Regions from separate parts of the Homo sapiens genome. Here region 2 is linked to region 1. The links are contacts of gene promoters, found by promoter capture Hi-C in human tissues and cell types (Jung and others, 2019). All regions are on one chromosome and are shown on one strand. Each heading gives the region's core, a stretch centred on a gene start or on the middle of the fragment in contact. The rest is flanking DNA. Distances are from core to core; before and after follow the strand shown. Region 1 holds the start of MROH9 (maestro heat like repeat family member 9). Region 2 overlaps FMO1-AS1 (FMO1 antisense RNA 1).

What was found. Contacts are between HindIII fragments. The study calls those that stand out against the background at their distance.
Region 2: a fragment that was not itself captured here is called in contact with the fragment with the promoter of MROH9 in region 1 in 2 of the 25 tissues and cell types used here (H1 embryonic stem cells and hippocampus).

What each region holds. Positions count from the first base shown.
Region 1 is chr1:170,932,785-170,939,500 of GRCh38, reverse strand. MROH9 (maestro heat like repeat family member 9) reads right to left here and starts at 3,967. Exons shown (of 22, transcript NM_001163629.2): 1 at 3,914-3,967. The HindIII fragment of the contact is 10,538 bases long and covers 1,353-6,716 here.
Region 2 is chr1:171,172,208-171,178,072 of GRCh38, reverse strand. The region is part of intron 2 of FMO1-AS1 (FMO1 antisense RNA 1); the gene reads left to right. Among named protein-coding and RNA genes, the nearest start is that of FMO2, 10 kb to the left of the region's middle. The HindIII fragment of the contact is 6,992 bases long and covers 322-5,865 here.

The sequences.
Region 1 (6,716 bases), core at 2,718-5,217:
AGAGGAAGAAAACAGCCTGGTTTACAGTTGGTTCTACATGATATACAGGCACAACTTGAAAGTGGATGACTGTATCCCTATAGCCCCCTTTTGGGACATCTCTGAAGGACAATGGCCAAGAGAAATACTCCCAGTGGGCAAAACCCCAAGCAGTGCAATCCTCCCTGTAGGCAGAACTTCGAGCACTGAATCTGATTTTTTACTTTGATTGGAAGGAGAAATAGCCAGATGTGTGATTATATACTGATTCATGGGCTGTGCCCAGTGATTTTTCTAGATGGTCAGAAACTTGGAAGGAACATGATTGGAAAATTGATGAAGAAATTTGAGGAAGAGATAAGTGGATAGACATCTCAGAATTAGCAAAAAGTTTGAAGATATTTGTGTTCCCTGTAAATATTCACCAAAGGGCAATCTCTGCTGAGGATTATTTAATAATCAAGCAGATAGGATGACCCATTCTGTAGGTACCAATTAGGCTATTTCTTCAGCCACTAGTGTCATCACCCAATAGGCTCATGAGCAAAGTAGCCATAGTGTCAGGGATGTAAATTATGTATGGGTCCAGCAACATGGACTTTTATTTGTCAAGGACAACCTAGCTGTGGCCACTACCGAGTGGCCAATATGCCAGTAGCAGAGAAAAACACTGAGTCCTTGATGTGGCCCAGAGTGATCAGCCAGCTACCTGGTGGCAGCTTGACTACATTGGACTGCGTCCATCATAGAAGAGGAAGCATTTTGTCCTTACTGAAATAGACACTTACCCTGGATATGGATTTGCCGTCCAGGTATGCAATGCTTCTGCCAAAACTGCCATTTGTGGACTTATAGAATGCCTTATCCACCATCATGTTATTCCACACAGCATTGCTTCTGATCAAGGAACTCACTTCACAGCCAAAGAAGTGGGGCAATTGGCTTATGCTCATGGAATTCACTAGTCTTACCATGTTCCCCACCATCCTAAAGCCACTTGTTTGATGGAACGGTGGAATGACCTTTTGAAGACTCAGTTACGTCATCAGCTAGATGTCAATACCTGGAAGGGCTGGGGCAAGGTTCTCCGGAAAACTGAATATGCTCTGAATATGTTCAATTTATAGTGCTATTTCTCCTATAACCAGGATTCCTGGGTCTAGGGATCAAGGGGTGAAAATAGAGTTGCACCACTCACTATTATCCTTAGTGTCCCACTAGCTTCCTGTTCTTGTGGCATTATGCTCTGCTGGCTTAGAGATCTCAGTTCTGGAGGGAAGAATTCTTCCATCAGGGGACACGACAATAATTCCACTGAACTGGAAGTTAAGACTGCCACCTGGCCACCTTGGTCTCCTTGTGCTTCTGAGTCAACAGGCTAAGAAGGGAGTTATGGTGCTGGTTGGACTGACTGATCCACACTACCAAAGAGAACTTGGGCTACTATTCCATAATGGAGGCAAGGAAGAGTATGTCTGCAATACAAAAGATCCCTTAGTGTGTCTCTTAGTATTACTGTGTCCTGTGATTAAGATCAATGGAAAACTACAACCACCCAGTGCAGGTAGGACTACTAGTGACCCAGACCTTTATGGATCACTTTAGCAGGTAAAGAACCACAAGCAGCTGAGGTGCTTACTGAAGGCAAAGAAACTACAGAATGTGTAGTAGAAAAAGGGAGTTAAAAATACTGATTATGGGCCGGGCGCGGTGGCTCACGCCTGTAATCCCAGCACTTTGGGAGGCCGAGGCGGGCGGATCACGAGGTCAGGAGATCGAGACCATCCCGGCTAAAACGGTGAAACCCCGTCTCTACTAAAAATACAAAAAAAATTAGCCGGGCGTAGTGGCGGGCGCCTGTAGTCCCAGCTACTTGGGAGGCTGAGGCAGGAGAATGGCGTGAACCCGGGAGGCGGAGCTTGCAGTGAGCCGAGATCCCGCCACTGCACTCCAGCCTGGGCGACAGAGCGAGACTCCGTCTCAAAAAAAAAAAAAAAAAAAAAAAATACTGATTATGATGCTGTGATCAGTGCAGAAATGAAGACTGTAATAATTATGAGTATTTCCTTTTAATTTTGTTCTGAATACATTTCTTTGTGTATATATTAGATACCAAATATTTTTTCTTTTCTTATTCTCTTATCACATAATACAAAATGCAATGACTTCATATTCTAGTATTTAAGTATTGTTAATGTTACATCATAGTGTTTAAGTTACAGGACATCAAGGAAGAGAGTAAACATCACTGAAGGACTTTATCTCCTCCTCTGAGAAGGGTTTAGTGCATTTTCAGTTGTATGCAGGACATATGTTGGAACAGGAATTAAAAGAAATTAAAGAATGTGTAAGCAGAAACTCAGTTGTATGTAAGAAAACCCAATTCCCCAGAGAAAGAGAAAGAGCTGGAGTCCTTTAAAATTAACTGCCTGTTTTTCTGTGGCTAGTGAGCCTTATCTCTCCTCCTTTCCCAGGCATTGTGAAGACCCTGTTTCTCTAGCTGTGCAGCTGCAAGGTCACTAGACAGATAAACTCAAGTCATAAAACATGTTTTTCCTTGAAAAGTAAGAAATGATGTAATGCATGTTTCAATTAATTGAATAACTGTCTTTGTTTCTCACTTCTGTAATATGCTTCCCCCTACACAGATCTCCCCCACCCCACGAAATGATTAAAAGATAACTCTTTGTTCAGGGCTCAGTCCTTTGGAGGTTAATCCAACTGGGCCGGTGCACCTAAATAATAAATATCCTTCTCAACCCCATCGGTCTCTCTGATTCCTTATCAATCCCACTACATTTCAACATGTTAAATGGAATTATGAGCTTCTTATTGACTTTATTTGGAGATTAACTATGGCTTAAGGATATGTATATGGGTGCCAAATTTTCAACGTGGGAACTCATTATGGTTAGTTAATATTACGTGTCAAACTGAGTGAGCCATAGGATGCCCAGATATCTGGTAAACATTATTTTGGGGTATGTCTGTGAGGGTATTTCCAGAAGAGATTAGCATTTAAATTGGTGTTCTGATGATAGGAGATGACACTCCCTAATGTGGGTCAACATCTTCCAATCCATTGAGGGCCTGAATAAAACAAGAAGGCAGAAGAATGCTTAGTTTTCTCTTTGCCTGACTACTTGACTTGGGACACAAATCTGCTGCCCTCGGTGCTCTGGTTCTCAGATCCTCAGAACCAGGCTGGAATTTTTATCATCAACTCTCTTGCTCTCAGGCCTTCAAACTGCACCATTGGATCTCCTGGGTCTCTGTCTTGCAGAAAGCAGAATCCAGGACTTCCTAGCTTCTATTATTGTGTAAACCAATACCTTATAATAAATATATTTATCTATATAGTTGTGGTTTCTCTCATCCTTACTAATAAGATAATCCTTACTAGTAAGGCATGAAGTTAGGAGATTAATGAATAAAGACAAATTCTTCCAATTGCCAACTTTGGCAAGATTTCTGGATGAGGGCCCATAGTAATGTAATTTTCTTTTTCTTTTCTTTTTTTTTTTTTTTTTTTTTTTTTTGTCTCACTCTGTTGCCAGGCTGGAGTGCAGTAGCATGATCTCGGCTCACTGCAACCTCCACCTCCCGAGTTCAAGTGATTCTCCTGCCTCAGCCTCCTGAGTAGCTGGGATTACAGGCACCCGCCACCACACCCAGCTAATTTTTGTATTTTTAGTAGAGATGGGGTTTCACCAAGTTGCCTAGGGTGGTCTCGACCTCCTGACCTCATGATCCGCCCACAGCCTCCCAAAGTGCTGGGATTACAGGTGTGAGCCACCATACCTGGGCCATAACGTAATTTTCTAATGTATTCATGGTTCTTTTTCTTAACAGAACAAAAATTAAGAAAAGTAGTCAGGATTAGAAAAAAAGACAAGCTTTTGAATGACAGAAATATTAATAGGAATTCACTTACATATTTGTAACTTCTCTGTAATCACGGTGAGACAAAGTAGTGAAGAGAAACTCTAGTATATTACCTCTTAGCCAAAGGTAAAATACTCTAGGTAGTTATCAACCAAGCAAATTCTTTGAAATGTTGACACTCGTCATGGCAACCATATGTTTCAAAGATTCCATTCTGGAATGAATGTGGTAGAATGTCCTGGCATGCCCAAGTGGCTACTAATGCTCACCTGTCATTATTGAGGGGTGGGTAAGTTTCTGGTTTCTATGTTACAAGCACTGAAAGATAGTTCTTCAGACCAACAGTCCAGTAGAAGCTGGGCAAAGGATAAGAATAGAAAATTCACAGAAAAGGAAAACTGAATGGCCAATAAATATTTTAAAAGATTTTTAATCTCACTTGAAGTTATGAAAATACAAACCATTAAAATATTATTTCCCAGCTAATAAGTTAAAAAGTACTAAAATACAAGTAAAAATTAAAAAAAGATAATTTCAAATATTGGCAAAGATAAAAGAAAGTTGAACTTTCTCACACGACTGGTGGGATTATAAATGGATATAACTAGTTTGTAGAGAAACTTGTCAAGTTCTAGCAAAACTGAAAATCTACAACCCAGAATTTCCAGTTCTAGGTCCATAGAGTGTATAAACATGTATACAACTGATGCACTGAGAGACATGAAGGATGTTTATTGTAGCACTTTTTATAATAGAGTTATTAAAATATAATTCACATACCATAAAATTTATCTTAAAGTATATAATTCAATCATTTTAAATATATTTACAGAGGTATACAACCATCATTACTATCTAATTTTAGAACATTTTCATTTAGAACAAGCTCCAAAGAAACCCTGTACCTGTTAGCAGACATTCACCCTCCCTCTCCCCCAAGTACCTGGCAACCACTAATCTTCTGTCTGCCTTCTGGACATTTTATGTAAATAGATTTATACAATATGTGACTTTTTATGATTAGACTGTTTGGATTTTTATTACTGAGTTGTGATTTTTTAATATGTTCTAGATGCTAGTCTCTTATCAGATACATAATTTGCAAATATTCCTCCTTTTCTATGGGCTGCCTTTACATTTTCTTGACAGTGTCTCTTGAAGCACAAAAGTTTTAAATTTAAGTGAAATTTAAATTTGCCATTCTTTTTCTTTTATTGCTTGTGTTTTTGGTATCATAACTAAAAAAAAAGAAAAAGACATTGCCTGCATTCCCTGGCCCAACTTCACAGAGATTAGATTTAGAACTTTTCTAAGAGTTTTGTAGTTTTTGCCTTACATTTAGGTCTTTGGTTCATTCTGAATTAGTTTTAGTATATAGTGTGAGGTAGAGGTCTAATTTTATCTTATTTTTTGCATCTGGATATTCACTTGTCTCAGTACAATTTGTTAAAAAGATGATTCTTTTCCTGATTGTCTCCACATCTTTGTAAAAAATGAATTGACTAAAATGGTTTATTTCTGAACTCAATTTTATCCCATTAATCTATATGTTTTTCCTATACTGGTAGCACACTGTGGTGATTTCTGTGTCTTTGTAGTAAGTTTTGAAATCAAGAAGTGTGAATTTTCAAACTTTGTTTGTTCTAGGGTCACAATTATAACATTAGCCTAAAACAATGTAGTTTGAATTAATATCAATTTAGTTTCAATAACATACAAAGGTTTTGCTCCAGTATACCTGGTTTCCTCCTTCATTTTTTCTGCTATTATTGCCATGCACATTATATATATTCATGTTATACATACATATATTTAAACATTATAATCCCACCAACCCAGTTTTATAATTATTGCTTTAAGCTGTTTTCTTTTAAACATAATAGGAGAACAAAACCAAATAATTTTATTCTACCTCTGTAGTTTATGAGTGTGCTCTCTGTGTAGACTTGAGTGACTAGCTAGTATTCTTTTATTTCAGCGTGAGACAATATCTTCAGTATTTCTGGTAGGGCAGATCTGCTAGAAAAACAATCTTACTTTATTTGTGAATACTTAATTTTTCCTTTCTTTCTTTCCCTTCCTTCCTTTCTTTCTCTTTTCTTTCTTTCTTTCTTTCTTTCTTTCTTTCTTTCTTTTTTTTTGAAGGATAGTTTGGTCAAATATAGAATTCTCAGTTGGTAATTTTCTTTTTCTTTTTTGAGACGGAGTCTTGCTCTGTCATCCAGGCTGGAGTGCAGTGGCGCAATCTCGGCTCATTGCAAGCTCCACCTCCCAGGTTCACACAATTCTCCTGCCTCAGCCTCCTGAGTAGCTGGGACTACAGGTGCGTGCCACCACAGTGGCTAATTTTTTTGTATTTTCAGTAGAGACGGGGTTTCACCGTGTTAGCCAGGATGGTCTCGATCTCCTGACCTCGTAATCCACCCGCCTTGGCCTCCCAAATTGCTGGGATTACAGGTGTGAGCCACTGCACCTGGCCCAGTAATTTTTTTTATGGTTCTTTGTTGTCATCTGACTTCCTTCTAGCCCCCTTCTTCTCTGTCTTCCTCCTGCTTTGGCCATGTAAGATGAACCTGCTTCCCCTTCAGCCATGATTGAAAGTTTCCTGAGGCCTCCCCAGCCATGCTTTCTGTACAACATGTGGAACAGTGAGCCAGTTAAACCTTGTTTCTTTATAAATTACCCAGTCTCAGATATTTATTTAAAGCAGTGTGAGAACAGACTACTACAGAAAATTAGTACCTAGGAGTGGTGCATTGCTATAAAGATACCTGAAAATGTGGAAGCAGCTTTGGAACAGGGTAATGGGCAGAGATTGGAACAGTTTGGTTGGCTCAGAAGAAAACAGAAAG
Region 2 (5,865 bases), core at 2,568-5,067, 240 kb before region 1:
CCTCAACACCATGTGGGTGACTCCAACAGTTGGGGCATATTGTGCTGCCAAGGCCAATATCATTCTACCCCATTCTTCTCTCAGAGGACTTCCTGCATATTTCTTTAGCTGTGCTCTCAATTCTACTTTAGTATCCTGGAAGTTAAATTATAAGTAAACACAAACTCACAGAAGTTACTCAAAAACTGGTGTTAAGCATACATTGGTCTAGCTCCAGATTTATGAGAAAATAGAAAAACAAGGCTAAACATTTTACTGGGTCTTCATGATTATAGTTTTGCTAAAACACTCAATTTTTATTCCTTAAAATATTTGCTTTTTACAAATACAGTTGAATGTGTGTGAACTGGTTCATGTGTAAGGTTATTCACTGAAGCCAAATAAGATTGAAAATTTTGGGACTTAGAAACCAATACCCCAAAATATGGCACTTTAACATGCTGAACTGAAGAAGACGACTCAGGATCTCTCTGACCTTCCCTTTCTTCCTGTATCTCAATCCTCTGTATCCCCCAAAGCTCTCCCAAAAAACAGGGTGAAGTTGTTCTCTGCAGTTCCCTTATTTGCCTAAAGTCTAGACTTGCCAAAGAAGAAATCAATTACCTTTGGTACCTTCCCTGAGTTTTCATTAACTGAACTCATACTGCAGGAAGAAAGAATTCTGTCAACACACCTAGACAGACTTGTCATAAGCCATTGTTTGCGCTGCGGGCCCAACATACTTTATTCCAGGCCATTGTATGTTCTTCAAGCCCGTTGGGTCCCCTAGAGATCATTTCATAGTCACCCTAAAATCAATCCACACTTTCTCATCTCCCTGTCACCTAAGGAAGGGATATATAAGCATCCGTACCCCATTGCATGCTGGGATAATCATGTGATTTTTACCCCAACTCCTGTGGAAGTTAATAAATTTGTGTACATTTTCTTCTATCAATATGCCTTTTGTCAGTAGATTTTTAGCAAATCTTCAGAGAGCAGAGGGGAATTTTCCATCAACGCTCCAAAAACTAACAAAATGTCCATCAATAGAATATTGGTTCCATATCTTATGGTACATCTCTATGATTGAATAACATGTAGCTTTGAAAAGAATGACACAGCTCTCTATATATTAGTTGTCAAGGTATATTATTAAATAAGTAAGATACAGAACAGCATATACACAATGCTATGCTTTGTGTAAAAAGGAAAATACAATTTATTTTTCTCATATCTGCATAAATCTGAAAAATATTCAAGAAATTAGTAAGAGTGGACACTTGAGAGGATCAGGGGGTGGGAACTGAAAAGAAGAAGGCAGTGTTTAGGCAGATAGAGGCTGGGAGTGAACGTAAGATTTTTTTCACTTAAATTTTTTTTTGAATCATGAGAACATATAACTTAAAACAATAGCACAAACACAACACTTATTGTTAGCCCATGATCAATAAAGCATCGACATTTGGGTTGATTCTCTGATTTCAGGCTTGCCTAAGTAAAATGTCTGAGCACTTGTCTTACATGGTCATTAATGAAATGATAGAGGAAGGAACAAAGGGAAGATATGCCCAAAAGGCAAATCACAGTTCCCCACTCAGGAAGACACACACTAATTGTGCTTGTCAAAATAAAAGTTTTTCAATTTCAGAACATTCTAAGTTCTAGTCTTCACAAAACACTTGTTACAAATAAATGCTCATGATTAATCATCTAACTTAGAATGCCCTGCCTCCATCTCCATCTATCAAATTTCACCCATTTTTTCTGATTACCCCAGCCAGGAGTTAAAGCTCACTGTTGCTACTATTGAAATGTAACCTACAGAAATTCCTCTTATGTGCTGTACCTCTTGGACTTCTTTACGACACTTATCAACTCCAGTTTCTTCTATCAATTTAGTTTGTCTCAAATTTGTCCTCTTATCTCTATTTTTCCTGCTACTATCATGGTTCAGATACTCACCACTTCTTACTAGAAGTCTTGATTGTCTCCTCCCTCTCAGTCTTGACCCACCACCACCTTCCCACTCCAACCACTTCTAGCTCTCCCCCTACCAATTCATTCTTTACACTACAGCTGAAATTGAGAGAACTTCAGATTAAATATGGTGGACTGAAGACACATTTTCCTCTGCTTCCACTTGAAATCCCACGAAAGAGTATTTTAAAAGGCATAAACTTAGAGGATAAATGAAGTAAGAGATTGAGATTACAGTGAGAAGAAATGTCAACACACTATTTGAAGATGAGAAGTGAGTTGATGAATTATCAGAAAAGAGAATGCTAACACCAAGGGCTTGCGAATGGGATGCTAACATGAAAAAAGTGAATGCATGCCAGATGATTTTAAGATAGCTTAGTGAGTGATTGGAGGCATCAGGAACTGCAAAGATGTTGGTAATGGGACATGACAGAGGAATTCGTTGAAAGTCTTTTTATGAAATGGATATTTCTCATCCTCATTCTGCAAACAACTATGAGACTGACCTTCCTTCATCCTGGATGGAGACTGGAGGTTTGATCTTTGTGGAAATTGAACTGGTAAAGTTCCAGACCTGATAATATAAAAAGGACTCAAAACCAGGGCAATTCACCAAGAAATTTCAGAACCCCAGAGATAGAGATTCCACAACCTTTCAGAAAAGGAAATACAAGTCGCATATAAAGGACAGGAAGTAGAATGAACAATGGGCTTTTAACAATATTGAAGCTCGAAGGCAATGGGGCAATGACTTTAAAAGTCTAAGGTAGTATCATTTTCAGCTTATACTTTTACATTTAGCTGAATTACTAATAAAGTGTGAGCATGGAAGTAATATATTTCAGTTACAGAAGAGGTATGACACATACTGTTTATTGGTTACCCAAAAGTTTCCAAGTTCATTTTTCTCTTTTTACCTTCCACTATAGGCTGGGAAAAATTATTTATCGTTATTTCAGATGCCCTTGTACTTAGAAGTCACCATGCAATCTCCACTCTGACCAGTGAGGTATAAACAGAATTCTCCCAGTGGATCTCTAGAAAACCTTTTGATTCCTTCCTCCCTATCTCCCCTCCCCTCTCCTCCCCATCTCCCCTCCCCTCTCCTCCCCCTCCCTCCCTCCCTCCATCCTTCCCTCCCTCCCTCCCTCCCTCCCTCCCTCCTTCCCTCCTTCCTTCCTTCCTTCCTTCCTTCCTTCCTTCCTTCCTTCCTTCCTTCCTTCCTTCCTTCCTTCTTTTCTTGTTTTCATCTCTCTCTCCTATCTCTCTGGACATAGCTTATCTTTATCTTATTTGTTTTTATGAAATTAGGATATTTTACCAGATTCCTTATTTAGTGGTGCCCTCTTCTGAAAAAGTAGAAAAGTTCAGATATTTAACAGTTTTCCTTTTGTTTGTTTGTTTTAATGATGATGATTGGGGAAGGGTTTTGAATCCTCCAATTTTATGGTTCTTTTTTTGTCTTATAGGACCCTAATTTTTTTCTTCCTTTTTTTCTTCTTTCTCCCTTCACTGCCAAATTGCCACAGGGCTTGTCTTCCTTCTTTTTGCCTTTTCTTTTCTCACTCAGAGCTATGCATTTCAAAGACCAACTTTTAAAATGTAGTCTCTCCTTTTAAATCTCACCTGTCTCTTTATATTGCATCAATCCTTTTCAATGGTGCCTGGTCCTTTAAATAGCTAGTATTTGAAATTACTTTCTAGTAGCCAGTACTCTGACTTGCTTACATGCTTTTTTACTGTTTCTAATGTAAACTAGTTTTATTTTATGATACTTTTTGAATTTACTGTAAAGAGACTCCAGTATGGCCAACATGGCGAAACCCCGTTTCTACTAAAAATACAAGAATTATTCAGGTGTGGTGGCTCATGCCTATAATCCCAGCATTTTGGGAGGCTGAGGCAGGAGGATCACTTGAGGCCAGGAGTTCAAGACCAGCCTGGCCCACATGGTGAAACACTGTCTCTACTAAAAATATAAAATTTTGCCCGGTGTGGTGATGTGCGCCTGTAGTCCTAGCTACTTGGGAGGCTGAGGCAGGAGAATCGCTTGAACCTGGGAGGTGGAGGTTGCAGTGAGCTGAGATTGCACCACTACACTCCAGCCTGGGCAACCGAGCAAGAGTCTATCTCAAACAAACAAACAAAATGTAAAGAGACTGACTAGTATTTACCTTTTAGGATGTCAGTGAAAATTAGTGAAAGCTTTGAATAATGATTTATTTAAAAATAAATGCAGTATGATTACTTTCAGGTGTGGTGAGGACCTTCGGGAGCACTTTCTTTGCAAAGAAGTAATTATTTATAATTGTTATATTTCTTAATTGTACGGATTTTATGTTAAAATAGTACCAGATTGCATTTTGTTTTCTTCAGTAGTCTAAGTTCCCCCATCAAAATATTGTTCACTTAATTTATTTACTCTGCAAACTTAAAAACAGAAGTTATAGTTAGCAGAAGTAAATTTTAGCTCAAACTATACCCATGACATTATGAATTTTACATAGAAATTTACTGAGACTTATAAGGAGTTAGTGTGTTTATACAGCTTCCTAGAGAGGGAGATGCTAAATTTCTCTTTATCACTCATTCTTTTAGCTGTCCTCACTACCAGGAAGTTCTTTACTGTGTTTAATCAAATCCTTTAAATCACATGAACAACTATTAAAACAAATTAAAAGTGGGCCCAAGGAGGCCTATGTGTGAGTTCCTAAATGCAGCCCAACTCAGCACTTAAACAAACTGAAAACCTAACTTAGGAACAGAATCTCAGCCAATCACAGATGGCCAATTCTTCAAACCATGTTCAAATAAGACAGATGTGAACTATAACCAATTGGGCTATCTCTGTACCTCAGTGCAGTTTTCTGTATGTCACTTCCTTTTCTCTAGTTACAAATATAACCTACACATTTGGTGGGGTGGAACATTCTGAGCCATTTTTGGACTGAACTGCTGCTCAATTCTAAAGTCACAAATAAAGGCCAATTAACGCCTGCAAAACTAGATTTGTTGTAATTTTGTCTTTTAACACAACACATTTCCAATATGACTAATGTTTAGGAAAACAAACAACTTGAATTTTTGCTGGCTTCTCTGCAGATACATTCATAACTTTAATCCTACTATATTTTGTGTGATTTAAAATTATGTTGTTTAATTTTATAAGTCAAAGATAATTTCCGGTCTATTTTAAAATATTTATATACTAGGATTGTAGCTCATATTCTATGAGAATATGTTATGGATAGAAGACTTTTTTTCCATAGTAACTGGAGGCAGGGTGGTAGGTGGAGGTGGTAAAGCCAGTAAATTGGTGTGATATCTGAATGGGGTGCTATTTTTAAAGAAATGATGAGTGTATGGATTTATTTAGTAAATATTTATTGAGTACATATTGTGTGCCAGGTATTGCACATACTTGAACTACTGAACAAGTTCTTGCCCAGTGAAAGTCTTTCAAGAACATACTTTCAAAAGTACGTAATAGTTTATAACTAGTACATTAATTGTGGGAATGTGATTGCTTCCACGGTATTTAAAATATTTTGTGTTGTATAATAGTTTAAGCTTTCTCTTACAATTTTGTTTATAGTGCTAAGTGTTCATGAAATATCCCTTTTATAGATAAAATAAAGGGACACTTCAGCCATGTTCTTGTCAAAATTGTCATAAGTTCTGAATTATTGAAATCAGGCCTAGATTGTTGCAGTGGCTTTTCAACTGGTGTTCTTGTTTGTAGTCTTTCCCATTTATAATAAATTCTCTGCCTTGAAGGTAAAAGTATTTTCCTATACTGTTAAATCAATTTTTGCTACTTCCCTGCTTAAACACCCCATTGGTTTCCTATTTAAACATTGTTTTGAGTCATTTAATGAGCTGTAGGTGAAGAAACACGATTTT